Regions from separate parts of the Homo sapiens genome. Here all the other regions are linked to region 2. The links are contacts of gene promoters, found by promoter capture Hi-C in human tissues and cell types (Jung and others, 2019). All regions are on one chromosome and are shown on one strand. Each heading gives the region's core, a stretch centred on a gene start or on the middle of the fragment in contact. The rest is flanking DNA. Distances are from core to core; before and after follow the strand shown.

The links. The method cuts DNA at HindIII sites, captures the fragments that hold promoters and counts their contacts. A contact is called where the count stands out against the background at its distance.
Region 1: a fragment that was not itself captured here is called in contact with the fragment with the promoter of FBXW4 in region 2 in 1 of the 25 tissues and cell types used here (dorsolateral prefrontal cortex).
Region 3: a contact is called between a fragment that was not itself captured here and the fragment with the promoter of FBXW4 in region 2, in 1 of the 25 tissues and cell types used here (bladder).
Region 4: a contact is called between a fragment that was not itself captured here and the fragment with the promoter of FBXW4 in region 2, in 1 of the 25 tissues and cell types used here (adrenal gland).
Region 5: a contact is called between a fragment that was not itself captured here and the fragment with the promoter of FBXW4 in region 2, in 1 of the 25 tissues and cell types used here (lymphoblastoid cells).

Annotation. Positions count from the first base shown.
Region 1 is chr10:102,014,312-102,017,011 of GRCh38, forward strand. All of the region lies in intron 8 of ARMH3 (armadillo like helical domain containing 3), which reads right to left. Among named protein-coding and RNA genes, the nearest start is that of ARMH3, 41 kb to the right of the region's middle. The HindIII fragment of the contact is 3,438 bases long and covers 1-2,700 here.
Region 2 is chr10:101,693,770-101,696,469 of GRCh38, forward strand. It overlaps FBXW4 (F-box and WD repeat domain containing 4), which reads right to left and starts at 1,401. Exons shown (of 9, transcript NM_022039.4): 1 at 612-1,401. The coding sequence starts at 1,336. RefSeq lists an enhancer at 81-160 and silencers at 471-930, 1,211-1,260, 1,291-1,570. The HindIII fragment of the contact is 7,927 bases long and covers 1-2,700 here.
Region 3 is chr10:101,994,692-101,997,391 of GRCh38, forward strand. It overlaps ARMH3 (armadillo like helical domain containing 3), which reads right to left. Exons shown (of 26, transcript NM_024541.3): 16 at 606-664. Among named protein-coding and RNA genes, the nearest start is that of ARMH3, 60 kb to the right of the region's middle. The HindIII fragment of the contact is 3,121 bases long and covers 1-2,700 here.
Region 4 is chr10:102,094,475-102,097,174 of GRCh38, forward strand. No RefSeq gene overlaps it. Among named protein-coding and RNA genes, the nearest start is that of LDB1, 25 kb to the right of the region's middle. The HindIII fragment of the contact is 4,424 bases long and covers 1-2,700 here.
Region 5 is chr10:101,200,752-101,203,451 of GRCh38, forward strand. No RefSeq gene overlaps it. Among named protein-coding and RNA genes, the nearest start is that of LINC01514, 26 kb to the left of the region's middle. The HindIII fragment of the contact is 6,715 bases long and covers 1-2,700 here.

The DNA of each region.
Region 1 (2,700 bases), core at 201-2,700, 320 kb after region 2:
CTTTCCCTCTTACTTGCATCTAAAAAGTAAGTGAGTGCTCCACAACACTCATTTTGTCCTACCCTACCAATAATTTACTAAGTCCATACAGATAGCTGTCTTTTGGGGAACATAAAAGCTTCTTGCCATAAGGCACATATTTATAAGTTGCTAACTTATATTTTCATCCCAAAGGCTCCCTAACCATTTCACAAACTACATGCAAGGACTGATTCACCCACCCGTAAAGCAAAGCCACCTTGGGGTGGAAAGTGGCAGCTGCTTAACAGCCAGAGAGGTCATTTATGGAGATCTGATACCCAAATAACACTGCAGGGAGAACTGAAAAAAAGGATGTAATTACCCAAACAACAATCTGGTCAGGACACTGGAATTTAATGATTGTCCCATCACTTAGAGCACTGGAAGAGTTCTTGGGTTTTTCCAGACCCAATCTCAGTTGGGCAGCATAAATGGTCATATATTTAAACTCATAAAGCAACTGGATCATCTCCTACAAGGGGGATGAGAACCAATGACCTCTCCTTACACCTATGGGATGTGAGGAAAAATTTCATATAAATCAGGCACCAATTCTAATCCAAGAGAGGCAAGGAACAATAGTTCTCAGACTGGCAGTTTCTACAGCTACCAAAAAAACTCATAACTAAGAAACTTGAAAACCCAACTGAAAGGCTCATTCCCCACACAGACCTATTTAACCAAGCTTCTGAGGGCATCTTTCGCACGTCAACTGGGAACAGAGAAAGAGACAGCTTTGCTTTCTTAACAGCCCAAATGTTTATAAGGTTTAATGCAACACAACTTAAGGGGTAAAACCCACTCCATTTGTTACTTGATCTGACAGAAGGAAGGCTCTCAACATTTCTTCCTATAACCAACAGTCAAATTCTGCTGATTCTACAGACCTCAAGGAAGCTCCCATGCAAGTGGGTCCTTGGAAAAGAAAATCAAGCAAAATCGGCTGACTTAGATATGCTGCCATGATGAGAGTAACACTAGAAAGAGCAGACCACTATTTCTTGGCATAATTTTTGAAGGTTCTAGTCACCCAAAAGTAGACTGTTTAAGGTTTTGGGATTTTTTTTTTTTTTTTGAGACGGAATTTTGCTCTTGTTGCCCAGGCTGGAGTGCAATGGCATGATCTCAGCTCACCACAACCTCTGCCTCCCAGGTTCAAGCGATTCTCCTGCCTCAGCCTCCTGAGTAGCTGGGATTACAGGCATGTGCCACCACGCCCAGCTAATTTTGTATTTTTAGTAGAGACAGGGTTTCTCCATGTTGGTCAGGCTGGTCTCAAACTCCTGACCTCAGGTGGTCCGCCTGTCTCGGCCTCCCAAAGTGCTGGGAATACAGGCGTGAGCCACTGCACCCAGCCTGTTTTAGGTTTTAATTGGGGTCATCTGATTTCCAAGCAAACGTTTGCATTCTAGTTCTTCTGCTTATTAATTGTGACGAATTAGGCACATAAAGCTAAGTTTCTATTTCCTCATCTGTAAAATGAGGATATAGATTGAGTATCTCATCTAAAATGCTTTAGGGCTGGGCACGGTGGCTCATGCCTGTAATCCTAACGCTTTGGTAGGCCAAGGTGGGAGGATCACTTGAGCCCAGGAGTTCAAGACCAGCTTGGGCAACATGGCAAAACCCTATCTCTACAAAAAATTTAAAAAGCTAGCCAGGCATAGTGGCACACGCCTGTAGTCCCAGCTACTCGGAAGGATGAAGTGTGAGGATCACTTGAGTCCAGGAGGTCAAGGCTGCAGTGAGCTGTGATCACGTCCTTCCACTCCAGCCTGGGTAACAGAGTGAGACCCTGTCTCGATCAATCAATCAAACAAACATTTGGGATAGAAGTACTTAGGATTTTGGATTTTTTTTTAACATTTTGGAATATGTGCATTACACTTAGCTGTTAAGCATCCCTAATCCAAAAATCTGAAATACTCCAATGAGCACTTCCTTTGAGTGTCATGTTGGTATTCAAAAAGTTTCAGATTTGGGGGCATTTTGAATTTCAGATTTTCAGATAAGAAATGGTCAACCTGTATTTTTTCTCCTGGGGTTGCTAAAAGGCTTAAATGAAGTAAGACACATCAAATCCTTAGCACAATACCTGGTACATGCTAAAGGCTTAATAATTGGTACAGGTAGCTGTGTGTTTTCCTCTTTTACATTATTATCACATTCAAAGGAAAGCTCTTTAGGAAAAAGGCAGTGTGGGGAGAAAAGGAACAACTTAATTAGACATAACAAACAATGTGTTAATTTCTGAGAAATGTCATGCTCTAGGAAACAGTTGGGATCTGAGTCACTTCATCTCAGGAGACTTGGCCAGCCTAGAAAGCCAGGATCTTATGTTGTGAAAATTTCTATTTTACCAGAGGCCAATTATTTAAACTATACCACTGTTGTACTGGTCACTTTTTAAAACTGGAGGAAATCTACTTTTCATCCACAAGACAGAATTACAAAATCTTTGAGTCTTCACAGTATCACTCTACTAGGGTCCTGCCTTTATTTGATTGCAGGTACACTTAACGTTTTCCATTGCTCTTCCCTAGACCTTTTTTGGGGGCTCTTTTGTCTTTTTGGATGAAATGATTAAAATGGAACACATTACTTGAAGTGAGGAAGAACTACACATTTACTACATGGTATCTTTTCTATCACTTTTATTGCTTAAGTCCAACAACTTCT
Region 2 (2,700 bases), core at 151-2,650:
GTCTTGTACACATCCTGGACAGACTCCAGCCTCCTGCCTCAAGCAGGCCCCCTTTTTCGTGTCGCTCTGCCTATATGAAGTCATAAACTATGGCTGAACACTGGGACCGAGGGCTTCTCTTAAGGTCCGAGCCCTGAAGCTTAACAACCTTTAGAAAAGGGTAGGGAGGATGAAAGATGAAAGTCCACAAAAATTTATGATAGACCACTTAAGGAACCTGAGTCCTAGACCTGGACTCAAGGAATCGTCCAAAGCACCGTACCAGACTGGCTCCTCTGGGGCGAAGGAACCGGGGCAGCTAAACCTCTGCAAAAACACACAATCGAAAGCTGTAGGGAGTGCCTAAGATGGCTAATTGTGAGGAGCGGCCCACCCGGGAGGGTGCCTACTGAGGGATGCTCTCGGGAGGCTGCCTCAGATGGAGGCCTTGGGGAGGAGGGGCAAAGGGGTCCCCGAGAGTGCTCGGGAAAGGGTGTAGGCGGAGGTCAGGTGTAGGCCTAGAAACTCGGGGTGCGACACGACCCTGGGCCGACCAGGCCGCGGCGCCCCGCCCTTTCCCGGGACGCGGGGCCGGCTCGGGGCGGGGAGCGGGCGGGCGAGCGGACGCTTACAGGTCGGTGCCGAGCCGCGTGAAGCCGGAGTTGAGCGAGGCCCGGGCTATCCGGCGCCAGAGCAGATCGCAGCTGGTGAAGCGCCGCAGCCAGCGGCACACCTGGGCCAGGCGGCCGAGGGCCCGCATGTCCAGGTAGGAGCAGATGAGCAGCAGCAGCTCCTCCGGCAGGCGCCAGAGCGCAGGCCCCGCGGCCGGGCGGGCAGCCGACTCCCGAGCCGCCTCCTCCTCCTCCTCCTCCTCCCCGGCCGCCGCCGCCATGGCCACCCCTGTCCCCGCGATGTCGGCCCAAGCCTGACCCCCTCGTCCCTGTGCTCTTCCCGGCCTGGCGCCCTCCCGCCGCCTAGCCCTGACCCTCCATTCCTCCTTCTTCCCATACTCTCTTCCTTGTGCCTCCTTCCCGGCCCCTGCGCTCCCCTCGACTCCCTTGACGATGCCTCTCGCCCCTTCCTCCACGCTTCTGCCTCCCTCTGCTTCCTCCCTTGGGCATGCCCTCGCTCCCGCGTCAGCCCCCGGCCCGGCTGCCTCCTTCGCCGTCTGCGGCCCGGGCTTCCCTTCCGCCCCGCTTCCTCTTCCGCCTTGCCCCGCTCTCGCTTTTCCCTTCCCCTTCCCCTTCCTTCGCTTCCCCCTCGCCACCCTCCCTTCCTGCAGCTTCCTCGCCTCTCCGCCCTCGCCCTCGCCGGGCCCGCCGTTCCCGGGGGGCCCCGAGCGGCCCTGGCTGCCCATGAGCGGCCGCGGGGCCGGCCCGACGCGGAGCCCAGCCCGAGCCGCCACCGCCGCCGCCCCGGGAGGAGGCGACACCATGTCGGACCGGGTCACATGGGGCGGCGCGGGCCGAGCCCTGGGCACGCCCCTCACACCTGCAGCCTTGGAGCCACTTCGGGGTGCGGGCTGGGGCCGGGGCGCTGACACCACCCCCGCATCCCCGAGAGCGCTTGGTGGAAGCACAGGAGTTCGCGCTGCAAACACGTGAGGCCGGTTTCAGGGCCCTGCCTGAGGCCACAAGAGGACCCGCTGCCCTCAGGAAGCGGCCATTTGGAGCACCTGCCCTCAAGAAGCCCCTAGTTGGGTGGCCTTGCCCCTCTAGAAGCCCTCCTCTTCCTCGAGTGATGCCTCCTTTCCACGGGCCACATGTGAGGGCCCAACGAATCTGCAGCCCTAGAAGTTGACAGGTTCCATAGCTTAGGTTCTCACACAGGCCCGGAAGCACGGTCCTGGCGTGAGCTTGGGTGTTAGACGTATTTGGGGATTTGCAGTCTTCTAGATCCTGAGTCCATAACTTCAAAAACAGTCATGTATCAGGAAATGGCACAGCTAGGGCTTCTTATCAGTCACCACCCAAGTGCAAGTGGATTCTCCAAGGACTCAGCATCCATTCTTCATACCACCCATTCGATTCACATGGCATTAATCTGAAGGGAGAGCTACTGAGGTCTAGACCTGTGCTGTCCAACAGTGTCCTCCCTCGTCACATGTGGCTGCTGAGCATTTGAAATGTGGCTAATACAAATTGAAATGAGCTATAAGTGAGAAATGCACACCAGATTTTGAAGCCATACAAAAAAAAGAATGCAAAATATCTCATTAATAATTTTATATTGATTACGTGTTGAAGTGTTAATATTTTGGATACGCTGTATTGGGCTAAATACAATATATTTTAATGTAACTACTAGAAAATTTAAAATTATACATGGGACTTGCATTTGTGGCTCGGGTTATTTTTCTATTAGCATTGGGCTAGGCAGTAAAACTTGGAGGAGGGGAGGAAGATGCCAATTTCTGTCTGTTTATCCTGTACTCCAAATCCAGGTAGGAAGGATTGGAGAGTTTTCTTTTGTACTTATCTACATCTTAACACTCATTTTCAGGGAGCAGGGAAGAATAAAAATTGACCCTGAAAATTATTCAACACCTAGCATAGCCAAAGAGAAACCTAGGGAAGCAACTACATTGTATTATGGTGCTGCAAGAAGCATCATGTAACAAGGTCAGACCGGAATCTGGCTTTGCCCTAGAATTACTTTTTGATCTTAGCAAAACAACAACAAAAAGCCCCACCTATCTTGGCCTTTTAGTGTTCTCAATCT
Region 3 (2,700 bases), core at 99-2,598, 300 kb after region 2:
ATCCACCCCTTCACCCCATCACAGGAAACCTGAGCTCCTTTTTTATTTTTTAAACTGCTCCACTGCCGAGCATGGTGGCTCACGCCTGTAATCCCAGCACTTTGGGAGGCCGAGGTGGGTGGATCACCTGAGGTCAGGAGTTTGACACCAGCCTGGCCAACATGGCAAAACCCCATCTCTACTAAAATTACAAAAATTAGCCGGGCAAGGTGGCACTGCCTGTAATCCCAGCTACTAGAGGGGCCGAGGCACGAGGATCGCTTGAACCTGGGAGGTGGAGGTTGCAGTGAGCCAAGATCATGCCACTGCACTCCAGCCTGGGCAACAGAGCGATACTCCGTCTCAAAACAAACAAACAAACAAACTGCTCCACAGTTTAAAAACACAGTGCTAAACAGCGTGGAAGCAGACAAGACCCTGTCTATCCATGGCTTCATCGAAGACTACACTCTAGTGGGAGAAGACAGATAATACAAAGGGGGAAGATTTTCTCTCCTAAACTTTAGGACCCTAAATGTCATGAGACAGTAATGGGGTGAGGGGAGGCAGGGAAAGATAGCACTTTGTAAAAGACTGCCTAATAGCAGAAGGCTCGTGAGACCTACCTCTGCAATACATGTAAGGATAATCAGACAGAGTTTGCCACTGTGAAGCCTGTGTTCATCTGTAAAGAAAAAAGAAACTCTTCTCTGTAAATCATCCAGATTTACATCATCTGTTTCAATACAGAACAAGGACGTATATCATAAAAGGAAACATTCACACTTTCTCTTCCCACAAAATCCATAAATGAAAATCAAGGTACTACTATAGTAATTCTTGCTTCCCTCCTAGGCAAAAGAATTCCCCCAGAAGATTTATTTTTTTAATATCCTGGTAGTCTGTTAAATGGCTAACCACCTTCCTGAAAGCCATCTAACTCACAATGGTTCCTACTGTCATGGCTCAAATAGTGGCCAGTACTCTCACATCAGCCCTTTGCTGATAGAACTTGAATAGTCAGGTCCATTTCCTTTTCCACCCACCCTCTCATCTGCCAGCTCTAAGCACCACCTACCACAAAATCTAGAAAGATTTCATGACTGCTCATAGCAAACTGGCAATGAAATCAAAAAGAAATTAACTGGAGACTAGGGTCCAGCCCACGCTTCTCCTTGCAATTGTATACTTATGCCCTAGAAAGCTGTGAACTCTTGATCATTTTTCTTCCTGTCAAAGTTACTCATTCAACAAATATTTACTTAGCACTACTATGTGGCAGGCACTGTGCAAGGCACTAGAGATATAGCACTGAATAAAACAGACAAAGGTCCCTGGTCTCTCACAACTCACATTCTAGTTATTAAAAAAGAAGAAGACAACCTCAGTAGCAGGGCTCTAAGCCCACACACAAAAGGACAAAAAAGAGCTAATCCATTACTGCCAAGTACGAGAACCCATCAAGCTTATGTTACTTTCCAGAAACTCTGTGGGTGAAGGAGTGAAAAGGAAGTAAGAAGAGGATCATGCCAGCATAGCCAAAACAGACAAATGGCTCATGATTTTCAAATTAGCTTCAACAGGACCCAGAATGAAGTCCAATCTAGAGAGAAGACCTCTTAATGGATTAGAGTGCTGTAGAAGTTAGCTATTACTATTTACCCTGACATTGACCTGCTTCTTTCTCAAAAATGGGATCTATCAATTAAAACCTGACAATTAGATGGCATAATGGGGATTACAATCCACAAATATACTCACATCTCCTCAGAGATAGGCAATGCAAAAAGAGTAATGGTGACAATCCCTATCTGACACTCCCTGGAGCTTCATCAAAGCCCCGATATAGCCAAAGAGTAATGCCCTTGCCTCCAGAAAACTAGATTCACAACTCTTCTACCCACCTTTAGCCAGTTTCTATGGCACTATCCTCCCACAAACTGATACGCAACTCCCACAGAAAAGCCTGCAGCTATCTCTCCACTTAAAATTTTTTTTAATTTTAAAATTAAAGTGTTTATGAATACAAAACTAGGCTTATTTCATTATAGACAGTCTTTTAAACTCTAAAAAAGCATATACACACAAAACAATGAAAATCAAATTTAATCATACCACCCAAATGTTATAACTGTTAAGACTTTGGTGAATCAACTTTAAGTCTATGCATAGATATACATGGTTTTTACAATTTTTTGCCTAGTATCTATTATAAAGGTTGAGCAGAAGCTTCTTTAAGGTGACACCACCAAAGTCAGAAAAATCCCAAGTAATAAAGGCTTTAAAAGCAGGGGAAAACCCAAGGGAATAGGGGCTGGGCTCAGTGGCTCACACCTCTAATCCCAGCACTTTGGGAGGCTGAGGTGGGATGATCACCTGAGGTCAGGAGTTGGAGACAAGCTTGGCCAACATGGTGAAACCCCTTCTCTACTAAAGATACAAAAATCAGCCAGGCGTGGTGGCATGCACCTGTAATCCCAGCTACTCAGGAGGCTGAGGCAAGAGAATCGCTTGAATCCACAAGGCAGAGGTTGCAGTGAGCCGAGAAGATCATGCCACTGCACTCCAGCCTGGGTGACAGAGTGAGACTCTGTCTCAAACAAACAAACAAAACCAAAGGAATGATAAATACAAAATTCTGGGCCACGCGTGGTGGCTCATGCCTGTAATCCCAGCACTTTGGGAGGCCGAGGCGGGTGGATCACAAGGTCAGGAGATCGA
Region 4 (2,700 bases), core at 133-2,632, 400 kb after region 2:
TGAGCCACTGCGCCCAGCTGTCATTTTTATTTTTATTTGTTTTGTTTTTGAGACAGATTCTCACACCGTTGCTCAGGCTGAAGTGCAGTGGCACAATCTCAGCTCACTGCAACCTCTGTCCCGGGTTCAAGCGATCTCCAGTCTCAGCCCCCAAGTAGCTGGGATTACAAGCGCCTGCCACCATGTCCGGCTAATTTTTGTATTTTTTGTTGTTATTGTTGAGATGGAGTCTCGCTCTGTTGCCCAGGCTGGAGTGCAGTAACGTGATCTCAGCTCACCGCAACCTCTGCCTCCTGGGTTCAAGCGATTCTCCTGCCTCAGCCTCCCGAGTAGCTGGGATTACAGGTGTGTACCACCATGCCCAGCTATTTTTTTCTATTTTTACTAGAGACGGGGTTTCATCATATTGGCCAGGTTGGTCTTGAACTCCTGACCTCACGTGATCCGCCTGCCTCAGCCCCTCAAAAGGCTGGGACGACAGGCATGACCCACCATGCCTGGCTCCCATTTATTTATTGAGGGGCCTTTTAAAAAACAAAACAAAACCTATTTTGCATAAATTAATTATACAAAAATTATTTATTTATTTATTTTTAGGATCAGAGTCTTGCTATGCTGCCCAGGCTGGGCTCAAACTCCGAAGCTTTTTTTTCTTTTTCTTTTTTTGAGATAGAGTCTCGCTCTCACCCAGGCTGGAGTGCAGTGGCGCAATCTTGGCTCACTGCAAGCTCCGCCTCCCAGGTTCATGCCATTCTCCTGCCTCAGCCTCCTGAGTAGCTGGGACTACAGGCGCCCGCCACCGTGCCCGGCTAATTTTTTATATTTTTTAGTAGAGAAGGGGTTTCACCGTGTTAGCTAGGATAGTCTCGATCTTCTGACCTTGTGATCCGCCCGCCTCGTCCTCCCAAAGTGCTGGGATTACAGGTGTGAGCCACTGCGCCCGGCCTCAAACTCCGAAGCTTTATAAAGGGATCCTCCTGCCTCACCCTCCCCAGTAGCTTGGACTACAGGTGTCCCACACTGCACCCTACTTATACAAAAACATTTTAACTCTTTATCATATTTGCTGCAAATATATTTCTCAGCATATTGCTTTCTTGTTTGTTCTCTTTAGAGGTTTGGTTTCGTTTTTACTTATACATATATACACCAAAGTTGTAAATTTGTATGTAGTCAAACTGGTCATTCTTTCCTTTTTTTTTTTTTAATTGGGATAAAATTTACTCTCTTCCTTTTTGATTTCTTCTATAGTATTTAAGCTTGCAAGTTTATCACCCACACACATATTCCTACAAGGCTGATGAATACTATTTAATCTCATTTTCTTCTAACTTTATTTACTTACATTTAATTCTTTAATCTTGTTTTTCTTTTTTTTTTTTTTTCTTTTTTGATGGAGTCTTCTCTGTCACCCAGGCTGGAGTGCAGTGGCACTATCTCAGCTTACTACAACCTCAGCCTCCCAGGTCAAGCAATTCTCCTGCCTCAGCCTCCCGTAGCTGGGATTACAGGTACCTGCTACCACACCTGGCTAGTTTTTTTTTGTATTTTTAGTAGAGACAGGGTTTCACCATGTTGGCCAGGCTTGAACTCCTGACCTCAGGTTTTGAACTGCTGACCTCAGGTGATCCACCCACCTCGGCCTCCCAAAGTGCTGGGATTACAGGCGTGAGCCACCACACCCGGACTAATTCTTTAATCTTGTATTTGTTTTATTTTATAAGTTAGGATCTTTTTGTGTGGTTTGGTTTGGGTTTTCTACATTACTAGCAGCATGGACCTCATAGCCTCCTAATTAGTTTCCCCTCTCCAGTTCTACACACCACATCAAACTAACCTTATTTAAAAAAAATAAAAAAATTTAAAAAATAACAGATCTGAGTAGGTCACTTCTCTGTTGAAAAACTTTTGGTGGTTTTCCACTCTCTATAAAATTAAGTCTAAACTTCATTGGCCAGGCTGGTCTTGAACTCCTGACCTCAGGTGATCCACCCGCCTCGGCCTCCGAAAGTGCTGGGAGTACAGGTGTGAGCCACCACACCCGGCCCTTTCTCTCTTTTCTGGAAGGCAGGGACCAGCTCTTAAACATGACCTGCATTAGATCCTTTGGTGACAACCCATTACATTTGGATGAAATTCAAAATCCTTGCTGGCTCTGTGACCTTGGGCAAGCTGCTTGACCTCTCTGTTCCTTAGTTTCCTCCTAGGTAAATAAAATGGGAGACAGCTGGGCGTAGTAGTGCATGCCTTTAGTCCTAGCTATTTGAACGGCTGAGGCGTGAGAATCCTTTGAACCCAGGAGTTCATGGCTGAGATGAGATATGATAGCATCATTGCACTCCAGCCTGGGTGACAGTGAGACCCTGTCTCACAAAATATATAAATAAAAATAAAAAATAGGCCAGGCTAGCGGCCAGGTGCGGTGGCTCACGCCTGTAATCCCAGCACTTTGGGAGGCCGAGGCAGGCGGATCATGAGGTCAGGAGATTGAGACCATCCTGGCTAACACGGTGAAACCCCGTCTCTACTAAAAATACAAAGAAAAATTAGCCAGGTGTGGTGGTGGGCGCTTGTAGTCCCAGCTACTCGGGAGGCTGAGGCAGGAGAATGGCGTGAACCTGGGAGGTGGAGCTTGCAGTGAGCCAAGATCGCGCCACTGCAGCCCAGCCTGGGCGACAGAGTGAGACTCTGAATCAAAAT
Region 5 (2,700 bases), core at 74-2,573, 490 kb before region 2:
TCTGGCTTGTTAAAGCAGAGGCACATATATATACTACCTGTATTGAACAGGTGTTTGGGTGTTTGTCCCTTTCAAATCTCATGTTTAAATGTAATCCCCAGGCCGGGCATGGTGGCTCATGCCTGTAATCCCAGCACTTTGGGAGGCCGAGGCGGGCAGATCACTTGAGCTCAGGAGTTCAAGACCAGCCTGGCCAACATGGTGAAATCCCATCTACTAAAAATGTAAAAATTAGCCAGGCATGGTGGCTTTCATGCGCGCCCATGTGAAGAGACCACCAAACAGGCTTTGTGTGAGCAATAAAACTTTTAATCACCTGGGTGCAGGCGGGCTGAGTCTGAAAAGGGAGTCAGCGAAGGGAGACAGGGGTGGGGCCGTTTTATAAGATTTGGGTAGGTAAAGGAAAATTACAGTCAAAGGGGGTTTGCTCTCTGGCGGGCAGGAGTGGGGGTCGCAAAATGCTCAGTAGGGGAGTTTTTGAGCCAGGATGAGCCAGGAAAAGGACTTTCACAAGGTAATGTCATCACCTAAGGCAAGGACCGGCCATTTTCACTTATTTTTGTGGTGGAATGTCATCAGTTAAGGCAGGGCAGGGTATTTTCACTTCTTTTGTGATTCTTCAGTTACTTCAGGCCATCTGGGCGTATACATGCAAGTCACGGGGGATGCCACGGCTTGGCTTGGGCTCAGAGGCCTAACAGTGGCACACGCCTGTAGTCTCAGCTACTTGGGAGGTTGAGGCAGGAGAATTGCTTGAGCCCGGGAGGCAGAGGTTGCAGTGAGCCAAGATTGTGCCACTGCACTTTAGCCTGCGCAACAGAGCTAGACTCCATCTCAAAAAGTAAATGAATAAAAGTAAGTAAGTAAATGTAATCCCCAGTGTTGGAGGTGGGGCCTGGTGAGAGGTGTTTGGGTCATGGGGGCGGATCCTTCATGAATAGCTTGGTGCTGTCCTCACAATAATGAGTGAGTTCTCACTCTGAGTTCACGTGAGATCTGGTTGTTGAAAAGGGTATGGTGGCCAGGCACAGTGGCTCACATTTTTAATCCCAGCACTTTGGGAGGCCAAGGCAGGAGGATGACTTGAGCCTAGGAGTTTGAGACCAGCCTGGGCAACATGGCAAGACTCCGTCTCTGTAAAAAATGAAAAAATTACTGGTCATGGTGGTGTTAGCCTGTGGTCCCAGCTACTCAGGAGGCTGATGGGGGAGGATCACTTGAGTCTGGAAGGTGGAGACTGCAGTGAGGTATGACTGTGCCACTGTACTCCAGCCTGGGGACAGCCCTGTCTCAGAAAAAAAAAGGGGTGTGTGTGGCACCCACTCCGTCCCCCACTGACTTTCTCACCATGTGATAGGCCAGCCTCCTATTCTCCTTCTGCCGTGATTAGAAGCTTCCTGAGGCCTCACCAGAAGCTGAGCAGATATTGGTGCCATGCTTCTTGCACAGCCTGCAGAACCATGAACAATTAAATGTCTTTTCTTCATAAGTTACCCAGCCTCAGATATTTCTTTATATCAATACAAGAACAGACTAACACAAAGGGATAATTCAGAATTTAAAATGAATACAAAAAAAATACAAACAGTAAGCCTTCTTCATACCTGAGTAGTGTCTCCTCACACATTCAGCACAGCCCTGTTCCCTTCCCCAGCACTTTTTTTTTTTTTTTTTTGAGACAGAATGTCACTTTGTTGCCCAGGCTGGAGTGCAGTGGCACCATCACAGCTCACTGCAGCCTTGACTTCCTGGGCTCTAATCATCCTCCCACCTCAGCCTCCCAGGTAGCTGGGACTACAGGTGTGTGTGTGCCATCATGCCAAGCTAATTTTTTATTTTTTGTAGAGAAGAGGTCTCACCATGTTGCCCAGTCTGGTCTCCAGCTCTTGGGCTCAAGTCATCCTCCCACCTCTGCCTCACAAACTGCTGGGATTGCAGGTGTGAGCTGCCACACCTGGTTCCCCATCGCTCTAATCTAACACTAATGTTCTCCTTCAACTCGAGTAAAATACAATTTCCTGAATCATCCTGAGTGACCTCCAGTTGTCCTCACTGCTCATTACATGCTAATTATAATGCATTAGCATCCTAAAAGACACTCCCACCAGCACCATGACAGTTTACAAATGCCATGGCAATGTCTGGAAGTTACCCTATATGGTCTAAAAAGGAGAGGAACCCTCAGGTCCAGGAATTGCCCATCCCTTTCCAGGAAGACTCATGAATAATCCACCACTTGTTTAGCATATAATCAAGAAATAACCGTAAAAAACAGAAGCCCCCATCCTGGCTAACACGGTGAAACACCATCTCTACTAAAAAAATACAAAAAAAATAGCCAGGCGTGGTGGCAGGCGCCTGTAGTCCCAGCTACTCTGGAGGCTGAGGCAGGAGAATGGCTGAACCCGAGAGATGGAGTTTTCAGTGAGCCAAGATCGCACCACTGCACTCCAGCCTGGGCGACAGAGCGAGACTCGTCTCAAAAATAAAACAAAAAAACCAGAAGCCCTCAGGGCTGCTCTGCCTATGGAGTAACCATTCTCTTATTCTTTTACTTTCCTAATAAACTTGCTTTCACTTTCTGGATTCACCTCAAATTCTTTCTTGTGCAAGATCCAAAAACCCTCTCTTGGGGTCTGGGTAGGGACCCCTTTCGGGTAACATAACCATGAGAAAACCACAGAAAAATCCAGATTGAGG